Regions from separate parts of the Homo sapiens genome. Here region 2 is linked to region 1. The links are contacts of gene promoters, found by promoter capture Hi-C in blood cells and fetal thymus (Javierre and others, 2016). All regions are on one chromosome and are shown on one strand. The core of a region is centred on a gene start or on the middle of the fragment in contact, and the rest is flanking DNA. Distances in the headings are between cores, read along the strand shown.

Region 1 (6,709 bases), core at 2,940-5,439:
AGATACTTGCACATGCATGTTCATAGCAGCACAATTGCAAAACAGTGAAACCAACCGAAATGCCCATCGATCAACGAGTGGATGAAGAAACTGTGGTATATTTATATACAATGGAATACTATACAGCCATAAAAGAAATAAATTAACAGCATTTGCAGTGACCTGGATGAGATCGGAGACTATTATTCTAAGTGAAGTAACTCAGGAATGGAAAACGAAACATCGTATGTTCTCACTGATAAGTGAGAGCTAAGCTATGAGGACGCAAAGGCATAAGAATGATACAATGGACTTTGGGGACTTGGAGGGAGGAGTGGGAGGGGGGACGAGGGATTAAAAGACTACACATATGGTGCAGTGTATACTGCTTAGGTGATATGTGCACCAAAGTCTCACAAATCACCACTAAAGAACTTACTCATGTAACCAAATACTAACTGTACCCCAATAACTTATGGAAAAATAAAAATAATAATTTTAAAAACGTCATTGCCCCTCCCCCCCAAAAACTGGAACTTTTATTTGCAATTGTATTGAAACTGTAAATCATTTTGGAGATGTATTTGTTTTCTAGGTCTGCCATAACAGATGTTGGTGGCTTAAACAATGGAAATTTATTTTCTCACAGTTCTAGAGGCTAGAAGTCCAAGACTAAGGTCTGTAAATTTCCTTTCTTCTCTGAGGCCTTTCCCCATGACTTGCAGATGGCCACCTTCTCACTCTGTCCTCATCTGGTCATTCCTTTGTGTTGTCTGTGTCCTCATCTCCTCTTCTCAATAAAGATAACTGTTGCATTGGATTAAGGCCCACCCATATGACCTAATTTTACCTTACTTATCCAAATACAGTCACATTCTGAGATAGTGAGGATTAGGACTTTAACATAGGAATTTGGAGGAGGGGAACCCAATTCAGTCCATAACAGGAGAGCACTGATATTTTCCCAAAATTGAACCTGCCAACCCACAAACACAATATATCCATTTTCCATTTATTTTAATATTATTTAATGCCTTTAATAGAGAACGATACATTTTGCTGAGAGGCATTAAATAATATTGAACATCATGTTGGGTATTCCTTTATTTAACGAGATCCCCTTTTCTCCTTTTTGTACTATGGTTTAAGTCCTAGAAGGTTGACATTTATGGACCCCATTAAAGGGCTCCCTTGTCTTCTGGGCTCTGGCTGGGTTTGACCAATGGGAAGCATGGGAGATCTAAAAGTAGATATTCATTTCCCCACTTCTTCCCCATGGCTGTGCTGATGATAATTGGGAGCAGTTGTGTTCTTCTACTGATTATTCCAGCTCTCGCCCAGAGCCTTCTCCTGCAACCGTACCTTTCTCAAATAAATCAGGTTCAGATAACTGCTCCCTTTCAGTTTCTCATTCAGATCTATGGTTAGTGCCCTATTTTCTCCTTGTTGTTTACTTTTGATCCTGGCCACACTTCTGTAACTAATCCCTTCATTACACTGCTCTCAACTTCTACATTTCAGCGTGCCAGTTTTTTTTCTGCTGGGGAGTACACTTTGTTTTTTTATTCCTATGTACTTTATAATTCTTGATGCTATTTAACATGGCATATTTTAAAATTACATTTTTTGTTGTTGCTAATGTATAGAAATGTGATTTCTTCATTACACTTAAAACAACAACAACAACAACAACAAAACCCAGTAACCTAGGCATCGCACCCAGCCTGGGTAACATAGTGAGACTTCATCTCTTCTAAAAAAAGAAAAAAACAACTTCAGTAACCTTTCTAAATTCTCTCATTAATTCCAATAATTTTTATTTTTATTTTTTTCTTTTGAGACATGGTCTTACCTCATTGTCCAGGCTGCAGTGCAGTGGCAGAAATTGGGCTTATTGCAGCCATGAACTTCTGGGCTCAAGCGATCCTCCTGCCTCAGTGTCCCGTGTAGCTGGGATCACAGTAGTGTACCACCATGCCTGGCTAATTTTTTTATTTTTTTGTAGAGCCTGGGTCTCACTTTGTTGCCCAGACTGGTCTTGAACTCCTGGGCTGGAGTGATCCTCCCATCTCAGCCACCCAAAGTACTGGGAACTGGAATTACAGGCATGAGCCACCACACCTTGCCTCTTTTCTTTGTATATAACCTCTAAAACAATTTCTAATCACAGATTTACAACTTTCTTTGGAAGATTTATGCATTTTTAAGTTACCTGAACATCTAGTACGATGCTGTATTGAAGAGGCAGTAGCAATCATCTGTCTCGTACCTAATCTAATACAGAATGCTTTCTGTATTTCACCATTAGGTGTGGGGTTTCAGATATTCTATGAGGTTAAAAAAGTCCCTTCTATTTCTAGTGTCTCAGAATTCTTATAAGTGAAAGAATGCTGAATTCTATCAAAAACTTCTTACACATCTTTTGATATGATTTTCTTTAATCTTTTAATATTGTTAATTATATCAATTACATTAACCTGTCTTCTAATATTAAATTGACCTTGAAGCCTACCCAATTGGTCATAATACACAATACTCTTAGAACTCAGAATCCAAATGAGCAGGAAATAATACATTCTTTAGAGCCAAGTATGTACCATAACTTACCAATTATATTCTTATCTACACACAATGAGCAATAAATGAACATGTATCAGTATCTGACCAGTTGTGTCATTTTGAGTGGGTCTTTTATTTACCTCCATCAGTAATGCAACAATCTATTTAATCAGTAAACAGTCATGCTGAGTATTCACTAAATGCCATTCACTTTTCTGGCACTAGAGTACAAATGACAAAGCCATAACCATTGCCATTAAGGAGTTCATAAATGTGTGAGTGGTGCGTATGTGTGAGACAAAAGGGAGAGGATGGCACAAAGGAGGAGTCGAACAAGATAAAATGAAAAACATATATAGTAAGTGCTTTACCGTAAGTGAATGAACGAGAGTACTAAGGAAAAAGAATGGAGACGTATTTCAAGTTCTCACGTTGTTTGACTCGAATCTTGTAGACGGTGTTTGCTGCAAAAAGATGAAGAAAACATTCACAGACATTTATGTTGATTACATATTTATTGCTATGTGCCCAGACGTTTTGACCTTGGGGATAAAGTAGCAAAGAAAACACAAAAATCTCTGTTGTATTGGGTTTACATTCTATCAATAAAGATACAACTTGCCCAGAGAAAAGCCCTCTCCTGGTTAGGAAACAGTATCAACAATTAACAGCTCTGGTGGTTTCACAGAGCCACAGTGGGCTGCCTGCTGCAGACAATATCAGAGTTTGTTTATATTTAAATATTATTTTAATATTTCTATTTTTGTCCATGTATTATAATGCACATCTATGTAATTTGCAAATCATCACTCATATATACATCATATCAAAAGGTGTAAAAGTTTTTGATAGAATTCAGCATTCATTCGCTTATAAAATGAGTGAAGGCTCACTTTACGGATGAGAGTATTTCATCAAAAAAATTGGGGATCTACGACTCTAGAGTTCTCCGAAGTCCACCAAGGAAAAAGTAACTTGAATTTAATCGCATTTAAAACTATATAGTATCCACTCCTAAAACATTAGCAACATAGGAAAACTTACACAGCGGAAGAAATGACTGGGGATTTTTTTTTTTTTTTTAATACATGGTCTCGCTCTGTTGCCCAGGCTGGAGTGCGGTGGCGCGAGCACCGCTTACTGCGGTGTCGACCTCTCGGGCTCGAGTTATCCTCCCACCTCAGCCTTCCAAGTAGGTGGGACCACAGGCACCACCACTCCAAGCCCGTATATGGTTTTTAAATAAGACAAATTGCAAAAAACGTTGCCAGACAGCGTTCGCTGGTTTGGGCCGTCACTGGGTATGGCTCGTGTCCGTCTAGATATTCAGAGGCCGAGCACAGTCCTCAGTAGGGCTGCTCGGCAGGTACACAGCTGACGCTGGTCCTTGGACTTATGGGAGTGGGAACAACTTTCAACTCGGCCGCGGACCAGGAAGGCGTTCTGACCCGCTAGAGCTCGGGGACAGGGACCCCATCCCGGTGCCTAGAGCGTCTCCCTTAGTCGGCGTGGGCCAGCGCCAGTTACCTCACGAGCACTGAACTAGCGCCTGCGCCCTTCTATACTTCTCGCTCTTTCTTCAAGTCACTTCTACCCGGCGAGCCCGCCCTCCCGCCAATCGTCATTTCCGGCGGGTGCTCTGCGTCATTTACGTCGTCACTTCCTGCCGATGCCGGTGTGGACGCTGTGAATCGTGGCTGGCCCGGTTCTCCGCTTCTCCCCATCCCCTACTTTCCTCCCTCCCTCCCTTTCCCTCCCTCGTCGACTGTTGCTTGCTGGTCGCAGACTCCCTGACCCCTCCCTCACCCCTCCCTAACCTCGGTGCCACCGGATTGCCCTTCTTTTCCTGTTGCCCAGCCCAGCCCTAGTGTCAGGGCGGGGGCCTGGAGCAGCCCGAGGCACTGCAGCAGAAGAGAGAAAAGACAACGACGACCCTCAGCTCGCCAGTCCGGTCGCTGGCTTCGCCGCCGCCATGGCAATGAGACAGACGCCGCTCACCTGCTCTGGCCACACGCGACCCGTGGTTGATTTGGCCTTCAGTGGCATCACGCCTTATGGGTATTTCTTAATCAGCGCTTGCAAAGGTGAGCAAGGCCGCAATCCTGGTCCTCGACGGCTGGGACTGGGCTGAAAGGGATCGGGACCCGCACGCTCCAGTGCCGAAGCGGTGGTGTGGTGAGGGGGGAGGGGGCGATATTAACATCTGAGATGAGAGCCAACACTGGTCCGGTGGAGAAAGGAGTGTGTTAGGGAATCCGCAGCTGGAGCCGAGAGGACGCTTTTGTAGAAACTATTACCTCCAACTAAGACCTCTCTCCTTATTTTATTTTTATTGCTATTTTTGAAGGAGCTGGTCAGCATTTGCCTAGACTCTCGGGACAACACGGTAAATAGCTTTCAAGGATTTGGGGAAAGGAGAAATTAGGCCAGGCCGTGCAATACCTTACAAAGACGTTCGCTCTTGTCTCACTGGATATTCCTTTGTGGTATTAGCCTCATTTTTCAAATGGGAAACTGAGATTCAGGCTAAGATGTCTGTCCAAAATAAGACTAAAATCTAGATTGTTTTGACGCAGATCAGTATTCCCAGCCAATTACAGATGCTTTTCAGAGAGAATGATCTGTTCAGCTCTTCAGTTAATTTATTACTGCACATTCCTTAGTGCCTTCAGTGGGTGGTGGTAGTTAAATAGCTGAAACAATTTTTCCACTTTGTCATTGAACATCATTGTATATTTACATTTGAATCTTAGACTTTAAGTAATCTGAACTTATAAATTACATGTTTTAAAAAATATTTTCTAGATGGTAAACCTATGCTACGCCAGGGAGATACAGGAGACTGGATTGGAACATTTTTGGGTCATAAAGGTGCTGTTTGGGGTGCAACACTGAATAAGGATGCCACCAAAGCAGCTACAGCAGCTGCAGATTTCACAGCGTAAGTGTAGCCAAGATGGCTAACTTTGGTGTTCTCTGTAGCTTGTGTCCTGAAATAATCAAAAACTTCAGTGTCAGATATTCATAAAATTCTGACTCACTGGCTGCCATACAGAACGCATGTTTGATCCCACCAAAATTCCATCGTGGTCCATCGTGGTCCTGTGTGCTTCTTTGTCTTCAGTGGTTCTCAAAATTTTCAGAGGCCTAAATGACTTATTCCGTATATTTTGATTGAGACTCAGGAATCTGCATTAACAAACGCACCAGATAATGAATGTTGATCTCCTTTACGAATGCTGCTCTGTGTGTACTCCTTAGTGATATCCTACATTGATGGCCCTAGGTTTTTATTTCAATCCCGGTTTTTGTTAACTGGCTTTAGGCATCATTAAAACTCATTGTGTCAAAAACAAACAAACAAAAAAACAACAAAAAAACAAAACTCAGCTGCTCGTCATTTCCTAAGTTTTTAAAGGTTGAAATCTAAAGCATTCTTGATTTTCCCTTATATCTAGATTATCATCATCTTTTTTGATTCTGCCAGCGGGATGTCTCCTGACTCCAATGTTCCTTCATGTAGTAACTGTGGCTGCCTTAGTTCAGGATCATTTTTAACTTTCAGTAGTTTCTTTTCCTCCTATTCATTTTCCATATTGTTGCCAGTTGTCTTCCTAAAAACATACTTGATCATGTCACTTCTCTACTAATGATCTTCCTGTCTTCCCTTTGCCATTTTAGTAGTTCATGACCTTTGATGTACATTAGAATATCTGGAGAGCTTTTCAAATATTCAAATGGTATGAGTCCCAGAAATTCGGATTTTTAAAACTTTTTTTTTTTTTTACTTTTTTACTATATATTTATATTTTATACTTTTTACTACATTTAAAAATATTTTTTAATACTTTTTACTATACAGACAGTATCTAGCTATGTTGTCCAGGCTGTCTTAAACTCTTGGCCTCCATGCCTCAGCCTCTCAAAGAGCTGGGGTTACGGGGGTGAACTACTGTGCCTGGTACAGAAATTCTGGTTTGATTGGTCTGGGGATGGAGTACTGGTCATACTGATTATTGGTGTTTTTTTATTTTTCTTTCTTCCTTTTCTTTCCTGATGTGCAGTCATAGAATTGCTGACCTAAAGGACACATTTCAATTGTTGGCCCTTTACAGTTTGCTTCATCCTAGTTCATCAGCATCATCCTCTGCCATTGCACACCATAAACCTA
Region 2 (6,629 bases), core at 3,839-6,338, 600 kb before region 1:
TGTCCATCCGGTATTTATTAAGCAATTGTGTCTCAAGGAATGGAAAAAGGGGAAAAAATATTCTACCCTGAAAGAGCCAGTCCATTAGAACATTTCTTGAAAAGACTGAGAAAAAGAAAAATTCCATATGATAACTAGACTAAAACAAAAGAAAACTACAGAGCGATTGGAAAAGGAATTGGCAGAATTACAAACCATGTGAAGAATGAAGAGGGCGCCCTGCAGGGGTTATCAACAAGGAGTAATAGGGGGCCATGAGATCAGATAAAAAGTTAGAAACTGGGTGCTCCTGGGGAGTTGGGGGTTGAACATTTATTCGTAGGAAGGTTGGGACCCCATTTGGTGGGAGGAAGTTGGGACTGGAATTAGAAACAACAACAAAAAGTACTTGAGTTTCATCAGAGATTTCAGGACTGGCTCGTTGTATGACCTTGAGCGATTAGCTAAATCTTTCTAAGCTTCAATTCCTTCATCTGTAAAATGGATCCTGCAATAACTAACTAGGGGAGCTAATAAGGATGATAAAGGTGAAAACATAAGGGAGTGTGCCTGGAATAGAATTGTTCATTATATAATGTCAGTTGTTCTTCTTCCCTGTTGGACCATTTAAGAAAGTTAGCAAAAAATATACGGAGAGCAGGGCCCTCCGTGCTGAATAGCTAAACAGACACACTTTGATCCCAGAAGCCCAGCTCCTCCCCGGCACTCATACCTGCAGTAAAGGCAACGGTGATGGATTCCTGGCCTCAGAAATCCTGAGCTAGATTGATAGAGGCCCTATGCTGCATTCCACCAAGAGGCATGGAAACACACTGTTTGCCTTTTTATATAAACATATATACATGCTCCTCATGATAAGGAGAAAGAGAGAGAGACAGAGAGTTTAAACTATGAACCCTCTTTACACAGTACAATCCCATACTCCTGTTCATGTAACCACACAGCAGGCTGGGTTGTGGTCTCCTAGTTTTGACTGATGCGTGTGTGTGTGTGTCCGTGTGTGTGTGTCTGTGTCTGTGTATGTGTGTGTGTGTCTGTGCCTCTGTGTGTGTATATCCTCATATATGCATGTCCATGTACCTGTACCTGTAACTCAGATGCTGGCCATCTCCAGATGAACCCCATCTTTTCCCCTTTCCAACCTGGAAGCTGATGGTAGCATTTTTCTACACTCTACACAAAGGAAATTCACTCCACAGAGCATTAGGAGTGATGCAGAATTTGCTGAAGTCTTCTTCACCCTATGGCAATTCTTTTCTAAGTCTTCCTTCACCACCACCACCAGTTGGGAATTTGCTTCTCTTTGACCTTCCCTAACACTGCACCGAGCCTTGAACCTGCCCACTGCCCTCCTTTATAATACTGAGCCTCTGCCTCCTTCCCCTTGAACTTCAGCCCTCAGGCTGAGGCACTTTTCTGATGTACAAGGGTCTTTTCAAAGCTTCTTTTCAGCAAAGATGATCCCTTCCTAAAAATAATTTCTGTGCCAGTTATCATAAAGATTAATAATTTTCTCCACATTATAATGTCTATATGACTATAACCGCATACATTATTACATATAGAAATGTTTTTAACATGAAATGGAATCATATGATCATATCATGCATATTGTTTTCTGATTTTCAGTTGCTCCTCAATTATATATTTTGTGTATCTTTCCAACTTATTAGAAATAAGTCAAACTCATTTTTTTAAATTACTGAATAAAATTAGTACTTTAATGTGAGACAAGGTCAATTTCTTTGTGCTGCAATTTTGTTATTGACAAGATAGAACATAATAACACAGAGTTATAATGAGAATTCCTCAGCTACAATATTAGAGACCTTCAGTTGCTTAGAAGAAGTGAGATACTTAAATAATAAAAATTACATTAGCTATATAAATAATGCTAATAAAAGTTGCTAATATTTCATCAGCATTTTTCTATGTGCCAGGACCTATTCATACTCATTTATATGCAACAACTCATTTAATCCTCATAGCAACCCTATGAAGGAGATACTATTATTATTCCCATTTTATAGATGATCTTTCTGAGTCATGGGAAAGTCAGTAAATTGCTCAAGGCAACATAGCCAATAAGTGACATTGCCAAAATGCGTGAGTCTGGCTCTAGAGTCTGTGTTGTTAATCACTAAACCATCTATCATCATCTCCAACAGGAAATACTTTGTACAGGCTTGCTTGCCAGGGACCTGAACTGGCTGTCGTTGACCAAATTTAATAAACGTGCTCACTGCAAGTGGCGCTCCAGCTGATCCTGGCTTGGGGCTCTCTGCACTGCTCCAAATCAGGCAGCCAGGCCAAAAGAAGATATGTAGAGTCCATGGGGAACAAAGCGAGGCAAGGTCTGCTGAGCAAGGCATGGCTTAGAGGGAAAAGTGGGGTTGTGGGGAGAAGCTACAAGGAGACAGAATAAAATAATGAAGAGGAGTGCTGCCAGGCACCTGGCCCAGCTGAGGAAGCCTCTGAGGTGCGCATGCCAAATCTCAGCAGCTCCAAGCCCAGCTCCCAGAATAGCTGGAAGGAGGCACACTGCCAGCGAGCCACTTATTACAGCCAGAGCTGGGAGCACTTAATCAGATGCATCCGGTTTGTGTTCACAAGATATTAGGCGGAAATATGTGGTCAACTGCAATGAATTGGCATGCCCTGTAGTGGGCCAGCCATTGCCGGAAGCCATGTCTCCCACAAATTGAAACCTAATCTTTCTCTCCTCTAAGTGCCTGCCACAACTAACTGATTATGTACATTTAATCTCTGTCTGATATACTATCTAAGGAAGAGGAAATATTTCTTTTTTGTGATGGCTCTATGGAATTGAGAGTGCATAAAGCTAGTAGGACCACATACATGGAACACCCAGGGCAGGTATCCATCAGATAAGGCCAGTCTCCGACCTCCAGCAGGTTACTACACAGTGAATGTCACCTGATGCATCAGGCCCAGGAAGGCTGGCATAGAAAACGTGAAAACATCATGGAGAGGGTTAAGATGACCCTAAGGATTGCTGCCAGGAATTCCCACAAATGACATATCATTGTTGCTAGTTGGCTCCAAAGTCCTCCTGAATTAAGAGCTAACAGTTGGCGATCTCAGTGTATTTGGGGTGTTTACTATTCTTTTGAGTATTTTTTTTCTCCTAAAATTGCATTGCAGACACTCCTGGTGTCCTGTCCAGATTCCCTTACCAGGCCAGTGCACTCATCAACCAGTCGCTGTGACTGTTCCAGAGGATTGCCACCTTACCAGGACATGACTGGAAAAATTGTACTAATCCCACAAGTGTCCTATGGCCTGTGGCAGACTGAAGTGAGGTTACAACAGTTCAGCCACCTCACCCATGGGCAACGCAAACTTTTTATTGCATTTAAACATCAAAATTCCTTGGGGGATCAGTCTGAAGCTAATATTCTCCTAAAACCTTGATTTACCTAGCTTATCTTGCCCTATCTTGCTTCCCTTCCTCCCCTATAGCTTTGTCCTGAAAGTGTTCCCTCAGTAATTCACCTGGACAAAAATCCCTGCCTCAGGCTCTGCTTCTCAGAACCCTGGCCTAAAACAGCATGTAAAATCCTTGTCAGCAAAGACCTTATAGTAAACACACGCCACCAGAGCAATACAATGCAGTTTCCCCAATCTCAGCTATTCATACACACTGCCTACATTATTTTCCCATATTTGCATATTGCTTATACAGCTATTTACCTAACAGTTGTTTGTAAGTAGTTTTCAAACTAACTCCTTTTTCAAAAAACTAGCCTTACCCTAAAAAAATCATAATTCTGCAACCCTGATTTTGAGGCACTAATGAGATTTACCAATTACACAGTGAAATAATGTGTGTATATACATTTACATATGGGCATTAATCTATGTATAACTTAAAATTATTCCATCTTTCACCATGAATTATATGTACATGAACCACATCTTTAAAAACATCATAAAATGAAAAGCATGGTTTGTAAAATCTGTTATTCTACTTTATAGTACTGCTACAGAGCTATCTCATATTGAAGGTAGAATAAATTCTTGCTGATGTTTCTAAATTCAATAAATACTTTTAAATTTTCTCTTAGCCCATGATCTTGCCAATAGTTCTAAGGGGGATGAGTGAAACATGACGTAAAAAGAGGAAAGAAGTATCAATTTTTTAAAATAAAGAAATAATTAAAAAATCCTTAGCATTCTATCTTCAGTGCTTAGATTTTTCTGGGATCATCTGCTAATCTGCTCCTGTCACACAGGAACACTTTACTCAATGATTGAATTGACAGTGACTTGCAAGGAAAGAGGAGCTTCCAGAAACTTGAATTTCCTATTGCAAGGATGATTATCTGACATCATGAAACTCAGATACTCCTTTCAGAAAAGGAAGAGCCATTGGCAGCCATTATGGCAGGTTTTGGACCATACAGGAATGCTTGACATTGCACATTTTCCTCCAAGTTGTAGCAATGAGTTAAACCGCATGACCCTCACAAAGAGTATTTCAATGTGGAAGGTAAAAAGCCAACTGTCAACAAAATACTTTAGAGTCAGGATTTTGATTCTCATCTCCAGCGTAATGTCTTTTCTGATCCATTCATCCTTCATACATTCTTTTGGGAACAATCTAGTACTGAGGAAGTAGAAGCCTAAAGACCACAGTATCTTGAAATACATGCTTTGCACAGTTGCAAAGGTTGCCAAAATCATACATTTCAAACCTGACAGGACAAGTTTAAAATTAGACACTACAGAAACATTGCACCTCTAAATCAGGGAAATGAGTGCAAGCTTGGTATTAAAAAAACCTACTTAACTGTCATAAAATTCTTTCCAAAACTAAAACCTGTTCTTTAGAAAGTAATTCTTCATGTTTTTATCCACCTGGACATGCTTCATTGAATGACAAGATCTGCTGACAGCAGAACTTCAGCTCCATTAATGTATCGATTAATATATCTGTGCATAGAATTTCCTGGTACTGGGTATAGGATTTCTCTGATGCAGGAAAGTACATCAATTTGGTCTTATTCTTTAACTGGCAAGGAGTTTTCTTTTACAAGAGATTTGGTTATATATTCCAGTAGTAGTTACATGAGTTTAATTTTTTTAAGTGCAATCCCTATATGTCCCTTCATTCTCAGAAGGTTTTCTTCTTAAAGGCTCGTTATTGTGACAGTAGTTGCCTGAGTGATCTGTCTGCTTCCATTACTCAATAGCTATAGCCTTAGGAGTCTAATTCTGTCCTTTCTTGTAGCTCTCTAATTTAGCTGAGTGTATCAACAAGAGACATTATACCTTAAAGCCAAGCCAATCCTCTCTCCATGGTGGAATGTGGACCAAAATATAAGAACTTTTAATTATATATTTTAAATTTAAAAAATAAGAAAGTAAGCTTTTCTAACACATCATATATGGATTTATACTGGTGTCCTAATGTATTCATATGGAAAAGAAGCAAGTGTCACATATGGTCACCAAGGCATGCTGGGAGAAAGGCAGAAATTCTAAGTATAGAGGAGGGGTCAGTGCTGGCTTCATGCCATAGACTTCATGCCATCTTGCAAAAAACATGGACTAAACATAATACCAATAATTCACAGACAAAGAAAAATTGGCAGAAACTTCCATTTCTAATTTGATCTCTTTATAAGCACATCAAAAGGTTGAAAACAATGAGGATGTAATTAGATAAGACAGGAAGTAAGCCAAAATGATTTGAAATTATCCAGGCTGTTTGAATCTCATGCTAGGTGTGTTTGCTGCTTTGAAATGTTTGCAAATGATAATGTGGAGCCATCATGATTAGTGAGACGTTTGGGATCTGAGCATCCAGAGAACGCACACAAACATTTACAATTTTTTTCCAGTGATGTTTCAAGCTGCATTAAGCCCAATTTGCTGACCTGTTCAGGGAGAACTAGTGATTTTCAGTAATGTGCTACCCAGAAGATATATTTCTCAAAATAAATATATAATCTATTCCTTCAAGGTAAAGGTGAGTTTTTTTTAACAAAGAGTGAGAACCTACCTGTTTTTTTTTTGTTTTTTTTTTATTATACTTTAAGTTTTAGGGTACATGTGCACATTGTGCAGGTTAGTTACATATGTATACATGTGCCATGCTGGTGCGCTGCACCCACTAACTCGTCATCTAGCATTAGGTATATCTCCCAATGCTATCCCTCCCCCCTCCCCCCACCCCACCACAGTCCCCAGAGTGTGATATTCCCCTTCCTGTGTCCATGTGATCTCATTGTTCAATTCCCACCTATGAGTGAGAATATGCAGTGTTTGGTTTTTTGTTCTTGCGATAGTTTACTGAGAACGATGATTTCCAATTTCATCCATGTCCCTACAAAGGACATGAACTCATCATTTTTTATGGCTGCATAGTATTCCATGGTGTATATGTGCCACATTTTCTTAATCCAGTCTATCATTGTTGGACATCTGGGTTGGTTCCAAGTCTTTGCTATTGTGAATAATGCCGCAACAAACATACGTGTGCATGTGTCTTTATAGCAGCATGATTTATAGTCATTTGGGTATATACCCAGTAATGGGATGGCTGGGTCAAATGGTATTTCTAGTTCTAGATCCCTGAGGAATCGCCACACTGACTTCCACAA

The links. Contacts are between HindIII fragments. The CHiCAGO score rates a contact against its expected background, and 5 or more counts as called.
Region 2: a contact is called between a fragment that was not itself captured here and the fragment with the promoter of STRAP in region 1, in 9 of 17 cell types (non-activated CD4 T cells, naive CD4 T cells, total CD4 T cells and 6 more). The highest score is 8.2, in non-activated CD4 T cells.

The regions. Positions count from the first base shown.
Region 1 is chr12:15,878,198-15,884,906 of GRCh38, forward strand. It overlaps STRAP (serine/threonine kinase receptor associated protein), which reads left to right and starts at 4,190. Exons shown (of 10, transcript NM_007178.4): 1 at 4,190-4,622; 2 at 5,344-5,479. The coding sequence starts at 4,511. It overlaps LOC102724146 (a long non-coding RNA gene), which reads right to left and starts at 4,101. Exons shown (of 6, transcript XR_007063230.1): 1 at 3,583-4,101; 2 at 2,910-3,002. RefSeq lists a silencer at 1,198-1,492 and enhancers at 3,608-3,837, 4,148-4,267. The HindIII fragment of the contact is 32,342 bases long and covers 1-6,709 here.
Region 2 is chr12:15,276,845-15,283,473 of GRCh38, forward strand. The region is part of intron 2 of LOC105369673 (a long non-coding RNA gene); the gene reads right to left. Among named protein-coding and RNA genes, the nearest start is that of PTPRO, 42 kb to the right of the region's middle. The HindIII fragment of the contact is 604 bases long and covers 4,787-5,390 here.